Linked DNA regions of Homo sapiens: region 1 is linked to region 2. The links are contacts of gene promoters, found by promoter capture Hi-C in human tissues and cell types (Jung and others, 2019). All regions are on one chromosome and are shown on one strand. Each heading gives the region's core, a stretch centred on a gene start or on the middle of the fragment in contact. The rest is flanking DNA. Distances are from core to core; before and after follow the strand shown. Region 1 overlaps PC (pyruvate carboxylase). Region 2 holds the start of CTSF (cathepsin F).

Evidence for each region. Contacts are between HindIII fragments. The study calls those that stand out against the background at their distance.
Region 1: a contact is called between a fragment that was not itself captured here and the fragment with the promoter of CTSF in region 2, in 1 of the 25 tissues and cell types used here (mesenchymal stem cells).

Annotation. Positions count from the first base shown.
Region 1 is chr11:66,888,715-66,892,254 of GRCh38, forward strand. All of the region lies in intron 3 of PC (pyruvate carboxylase), which reads right to left. Among named protein-coding and RNA genes, the nearest start is that of LRFN4, 33 kb to the left of the region's middle. The HindIII fragment of the contact is 4,816 bases long and covers 1-3,540 here.
Region 2 is chr11:66,567,356-66,570,595 of GRCh38, forward strand. It overlaps CTSF (cathepsin F), which reads right to left and starts at 1,251. Exons shown (of 13, transcript NM_003793.4): 1 at 919-1,251; 2 at 629-727; 3 at 89-307. The coding sequence starts at 1,131. RefSeq lists silencers at 1,300-1,369, 2,743-3,037. The HindIII fragment of the contact is 11,953 bases long and covers 1-3,240 here.

The DNA of each region.
Region 1 (3,540 bases), core at 126-2,625, 320 kb after region 2:
GAAAAGTTAATGCCACCATAGTAGACACTCTGTATTTTCAGATGTGAATATTAACTTAATGTTAACAATGTAAAATCTTGGCTGGGTGCAGTGGCTCACACCTGTAATCCCAGCACTCTGGGAGGCCCAGGCGGGCAAATCACAAGGTCAGGAGTTCGAGACCACCCTGACCAACATGGTGAAACCCCGTCTCTACTAAAAATACAAAAATTAGCCGGGCGTGGTGGTGCATGCCTGTAATCCCAGCTACTCAGGACGCTGAGGCAGGAGAATCGCTTGAACCCAGGAGGCGGAGGTTGCTGTGAGCCGAGATCGCGACACCGCACCCCAGCCTGGGTGACAGAGTGAGACTCCATCTCAAAAAACAAAACAAAACAAAAATGTAAATTCTGAAAATGTACTTAAAAGTGTTTCTATATAACCATGCAGGGTGAAGGGAGGGAAAGTGGGTACATGTGTGGGGCAGGGTTTGAGATGGGGAGGGCAGTAAAAGTGAGCTCAATCTTCCATCAAAGGAGACCACTAAACAGAGCAATGCCGTGGGGAACAGGAGTTGCAGGGCAGCCTCTGGGAGGCACTCATGGGGAGGGCAGTGGGACAGGGGTGGCGGGGGCAAATGAGCCTCAGGGTACAATCTGACTTTCAGAAGTGTCCACATGTATTATTATTATTATTTGAGAGCGTCTCACTCTGTCACCCAGGCTGGAGTGTAGTGGCATGATCTCGGCTCACTGCAATCTCCGCCTCCCAGGTTCAGGCAATTCTCCCACCTCAGCCTCCCGAGTAGCTGGGATTACAGGCACCCGCCACCACGCCCAGCTAATATTTTTGTATTTTTAGTAGAGATGGGGGTTTCACTATGTTGGCCAGGCTGGTCTCCAACTCCTGACCTCAAGTGATCCGCCTGCCTTGGCCTCCCAAAGTGCTAGGATTACAAGCATGAGCTAATGTGCCCAGTCTCACATGTATTATTTTGATAAAATAAAAGTTAAACTTACCAAAAGGGAAAAAAAACCACACTCTGCAAACAGGTGCAGTTCCTTTGTGATTCTTCCTAATACCATTCCGGGTCCTTTTCTCCTTTTCTCCCAGGGGGCCCACAATGCAGAGTTACTACTTCCCCTTTGTTGATTTCACCTGGATATTTGTGTGCCCATAACCATATGTTCTAATTTTTTTCATAAATGATATAATCATTTTAACTTGTTTTACCCAATATATATTTGAAATCTCTCCATGTTAATACAGTAGACCTACTTCACGAATGACTGCACAATGTTCTATTAGACATATCGCAATCTGTACATGCCGAATGAGGGACTGCTATTGCCTGAATGTTTGTGTCCACACCAAATTCCTATGCTGAAACCCTAACCAATGTGGCAGTGTCAGAAGGTGGGGCCTCGGGGAGAAGATTAGCGGCTGGTAGCAGAGCCTTCCTGAATGGGATTAGAAGCCTCACAGAAGAGATCAGACAACTCTGTTTCCCCTTTGTCCGTGAGAACACAGTGATCTATGAACCGGGCAGTGGGCCCTCACCAGACGCTGAATCTGCTGACACTTGATCTTGCACTTTCTGGTCTTTAGGACTGTGAGAAATGCATTTCTGCTGTTTAATGAACCTATGGTATTGTGTTATAGCAGCCCAGACTAAGGCAGTGACAAATAGATTGTTTCCCATTTTTTTTTTTTTTTTTGAGATGGAGTTTCACTCTTGTTGCCTGGGCTGGAGTGACAGAGCGAGACTCCATCTCAAAAAATAAATAAATAAATAAGGCAGTTTCATCTTTTTTTTTTTTTTTTTGAGATGGAGTCTCACTCTATCACCCAGGCTGGAGTGCAATGGCGTGATCTTGGCTCAGTGCAACCTCTGCCTCCCAGGTTCAAGCGATTCTCCTGCCTCAGCCTCCCGAGTAGCTGGGACTACAGGCATGTGCCACCATGCCCGGCTAATTTTGTATTTTTAGGAGAGATGGGTTTTCTCCATGTTGGTCAGGCTGATCTCGAACTCCACTCCCAACCTCAGGCGATCCACCCACCTCAGCCTCCCAAAGCGCTGGGATTACAGGCATGAGCCACCTCCCCCGCCGCGGTTGTTTCCAATTTTTAGCAATTAAGAACTGTGTTGTATAGGCTGACAAAATGATCATTGTTGAAGCTGGGCGACAGGTACATAGAGTTCATTATACTATTTGCTCTATTTTTGTGTCTATATAAAAGTAGTCGATTAAAAGTGTTAAAAAATGAATAACTTTGACCCCATATAGAAAATGTGCAAAAATTTCTCTAGGACATATACCTAGAATTGGAATTGCTGCGTCAGACAATAGGCATGGGGTTTTTTTTTGTTTTTGTTTTTGTTTTCAGAGTCTCGCTCTGTCGCCCAAGCTTGAGTGCAGTGGCGCGATCTCGGCTCACTGCAACTTCCGCCTCCCAGGTTCAAGTGATTCTCCTGGCTCAGCCTCCTGAGTAGCTGGGATTACAGATGTGCGCCAACATGCCCAACTAATTTTTTTTGTATTTTTAGTAGAGACAGGGTTTCACCATGTTGGCCAGGCTGGTCTTTACCTCCTGACCTCAGGTGATCTGCCCACCTTGGCCTCCCAAAGTGCTGGGATTACAGGCATGAGCCACTGTGCCCACCTAATAGGCAAGTTTTTTTGTTTTTTGTTTGTTTTGTTTTGTTTTGTTTTTTTGAGACAGAGTTTTGCTCTTGTTGCCCAGGCTGGAGTACAATGGCGCGATCTCAGCTCACCACAACCTCCGCCTCCCGGGTTCGAGCGATTCTCCAGCCTCAGCCTCCCGAGTAGCTGGGATTACAGGAATGCACCACCATGCCCGACTAATTTTGTATTTTTAGTAGAGACGGGTTTCACCACGTTGGTCAGGCTGGTCGTGAACTCCTGACCTCAGGTGATCCACCCACCTCAGCCTCCCAAAGTGCTGGGATTACAGGCGTGAGCCACCGCACCCAGCCAATAGGCAAGTTTTTAATATCAATATTGCCAAATAAGTCTCAAGGTAGTTATCCTAATAATTTACACAGCCACTAGAAATACAACAGAATGTCTATCTCCCCACATCTTTACCAACTGTTATATTGTTAGACTTTGATTTCTGTCAACCTTGTAGTATAAAATGGTATCATTTTAATTTTCAGTCCCCTGATTATTACTGAAGTTGGCTATTTTCTTATGATTGTGGATATATTTTTAGGTTTTTCCTTTTGTGAACTGCCTGTTCACATCATTTGCCCACTTTTCTGCTGGGCTGGTTGTCTTTTTCTTACTGAGCTGTAATAAATCTTTATGTATTCTAGGCATGAATCCATTCTCTGTTATACCCATGGCAGACGCTTGGGAGGATGTTTAGCAAGTTATAGGAAGAGGAAGGGGAAGGAGTTGAGAGGGAATGACAAGTTGAAGAAGGAAGGATGAGAATAAAAGGTGGGGCGAGTCCGGGAACAAGGCTGCGAGGCTCGGGTGAAAGACTGGCCTTGAACTAGATGAAGAACACTTCCCCTGAGACCAGAGTGCCTAA
Region 2 (3,240 bases), core at 1-2,500:
GAAACCCACTCCAGAGGGAAGGGAGAAGGGTGATGAGGCAGCGGCTGGCTCCTCAAGCTGAGGGCTCCTCAAGCTGAGGGCTCCTCACCTGGGACAGGGGATCCTCATTCAACAGGGAAATGACTGAGCTGAAAGTCTCGTTTCTGTTGTCTGGATGGTTTTGGGACAGAGAAGAAATCATGGCTGAGCCCTGAGTGAAGGCTGACTTGGGCTCCCCAGCACCTGGAACCTTGGTGTCCACTGGGCCACAGTCCTTCCGCAGCAGCACGTGTCTTCCGAGCTCATCCAGGACTTGGAAGCTGCAGAGCTGGAGGGAGAGGAAGAAGCTGCTCTGGGGGCCTGGATCTGGATCTGGGGAGCAAGATCTGGCCAAGATGGAGCTGGAGGCTCCTCAGATGAGAGCCACCCCTAAGGCAATCACCCCATCACAGTGGACAGTGAGGCACGGCCTGCACCGGGGCATCCTCCCCTTCATAGCATCTTGGTTTCCAGCCCTCGGGGCCTGGGAAGTGGCTCAAGGTGGGGCAGCAGCTACCTCAGATCCCTGCGTCTTGACCTGACCCGTCATCATCCAACTGCTGCTTTACTCGGCCTCGGGGCGGGGAACCCCAAGAGCCTCATCACTCACCAGGGTTTTCTTGGACACGGGGAGCCGGCACACCATGGGGTCGTTGCAGGGTGGCTCCTCCAGGGTGGCCTCCAGGGAGTACAGCGACCCCTGACCCGCCTGGAGAGAGGAGTAGGTGAGGCGGGCACAGTCGGCCCTTGACGGCGCCCAAGGCCCCGCCCGTGCGGCGCTGCCCATTCCCCATCACCAGAGATCGGTTCGTCCAGCGGGCAGGCCCCATCCCAATGTTAGGTCAAAGCTCCTATCCCTTGGACCCGGGCCTGGCGCCCCCGCCCCCGGCGCGTCCTCACCCGGCGGACGCGGCCGCGCACAAGGCCCAGCACGGCCCGCGTCCCCGCAGCCCGGCCGCGGTTGAACATCTCCAGCGCGAAGCGGGTGGGCGCCAGCAGCTCCGGGGACGGCGGCCCCCAGGCCTGAAAGCTGGCGGCTCGGGGCTGGGCGGGGGCGGCCACTGCGCCCGGGAGCAGCCCCAGCAGCGACAGGAGCTGCAGCCAGGGCGCCATGGCGAGGGCGAAGCCGGCGGCCCGGACCCAACAGACGCTCCACCGACCCACCGGGTACCGAGCCCGCGGCCAGCGGGGCCTGAGTCCTCCCTCCAGCGGGGCGACGGCACGCCGACCAATGGGCGCTGGTTTGCGGCGCCTGCGCGTTCTCTTGTTTACAGGAGGCACGTGGGGCGCGCAGGGTAGGGAGAGCGGGAGGCTGCTGGCCTGAGGCTAAAGCTAGTCACTGACCTCTATCACGTGCTTGTTATATGTTAGGCATGATATGCCAGCTCCTTTTATTCGGCGTAGCAATCTCTGAAGTAGGTGCTATCCCCATCGTACAGTGGAGGAAACGAGGCTTGGAGAGATTAAATGGCGTGGCCGGGCTCTGTGACTCAGCCCTGTAATCCCAGCACTTTAGGAGGCCAAAGCGGGTGGATCACCTGAGGTCAGGAGTTTGAGACCAGTCTGGCACACGTGGTGAAACCCTGTGTCTACTAAAAATACAAAAAAGAGCTGGGCGTGGTGGTGGGCGCCTGTAATCCCAGCTACTTGGGAGGCTGAGCCAGGAGAATCACTTGAACCCAGGAGGCAGAGGTTGCAGTGAGCTCAGATCGTGCCATTGCACTCCAGCCCAGGCGACAAGAGCAAAACTCCGTCTCAAAAAAGAGAGAGAGAGAAATATTAAGTGGCTTGCCAAATATCTGGTAAGGAATTGAGCTAAACTTAAATCCAGGCAGTTGGCTTCTGAGCCTGGGTTTGCAGCTTGATCGCCTCTTTCAGGCCCCTCTTCTCAACAGCGAGATGGCAGGTAATTTTTTGAGTGCTGGCAGCGTCTCAGGCTGTTGTGAGGTTCAAATGCAATCATGCAAGCATTCAGTAGCCACTAAGGCAGGGTGCACAGGGTTGAGACTGTCCCTTGAAGCATTCACCTGCTGTGTTCCAGGGTCTACCAAGGGAAAGCATGCACAGATGCATTACAGGAATAGTGCTGCGTTCTTGGAGCTCACAGTCTAGAGAGAAGAACGACAGATGGGCTGGGTGCAGTGTCTCACGCCTGTAATCCCAGCACTTTGGGAGGCCGAGGCGGGCAGATCACCTGAGCTCAGGAGTTCGAGACCAGTCTGGCCAACGAGGTGAAACCCCGTCACTACTAAAAATATTTTTAGGCCGGGCGCAGTGGCTCACGCCTGTAATCCCAGCACTTTGGGAGGCCAAGGTGGGCGGATCACGAGGTCAGGAGATGGAGACCATCCTGGACAACATGGTGAAACCCTGTCTCTACTAAAAATACAAAAAAATTAGCTGGGCATGGTGGCACGTGCCTGTAATCCCAGCTACTCAGGAGGCTGAGGCAGGAGAATCGCTTGAACCAGGGAGTCAGAGGTTGCAGTGAGCTGAGAGCGCACCATTGCACTCCAGCCTGGTAAGACAGTGAGACTCCATCTCAAAAAAAAAAAAAAATTGAAACTGCCTTTGCAAAATTATGACAGTAAGAGAAATCTGACATGGCTGACTGCATCTTGCTTTCTAGCCTCACAGGCTGGCTGTCTTCACTCATTCCTGGGCATGGGCCAAGGTAACTTTTGGATAAATTTAGCTTATACTTTAAATTAGAATACGCCTTCCTGAAAACTAAACCACCCTTGTAAAACTAATGAAAGGCCACCAAGTTAGGAGGATGAGAGGGGCCTGAATTCTACTAAGATGTAGGCATAGTTAAAGGATTACCAGCCATTGTTCTGGAAGTCACAAGATTTGCAACTTTGCCAGTTACTCCTGTAATTAACATCACTATCATGGAATGTAAGACTGATCTTTTGAGCTATCTCTTCCAGGCTTTTGCATTTGTGACTATGGAATGGCCCCACACTGACGTGTGACTCCACCAGTCCTGTGACCCCTACCCAGAAGCAGACTCAGTGCAGGAGGGCCATTTTCCACACTACTATGATTTCATTCCCAAGCAATCAGTAGCACCCATATCCTAGCCGCCTGCCTACCAAACTATCTTTGAAAAACCCCGACCTCCAAGCCTTCAGTGAGACTGATTGAGTAATAACCCTGTCTCCTGTGTGGCATGGCAGGTCTTGTGTCAGTTAAACTCGTTCTTTTCTGCAATGCTAT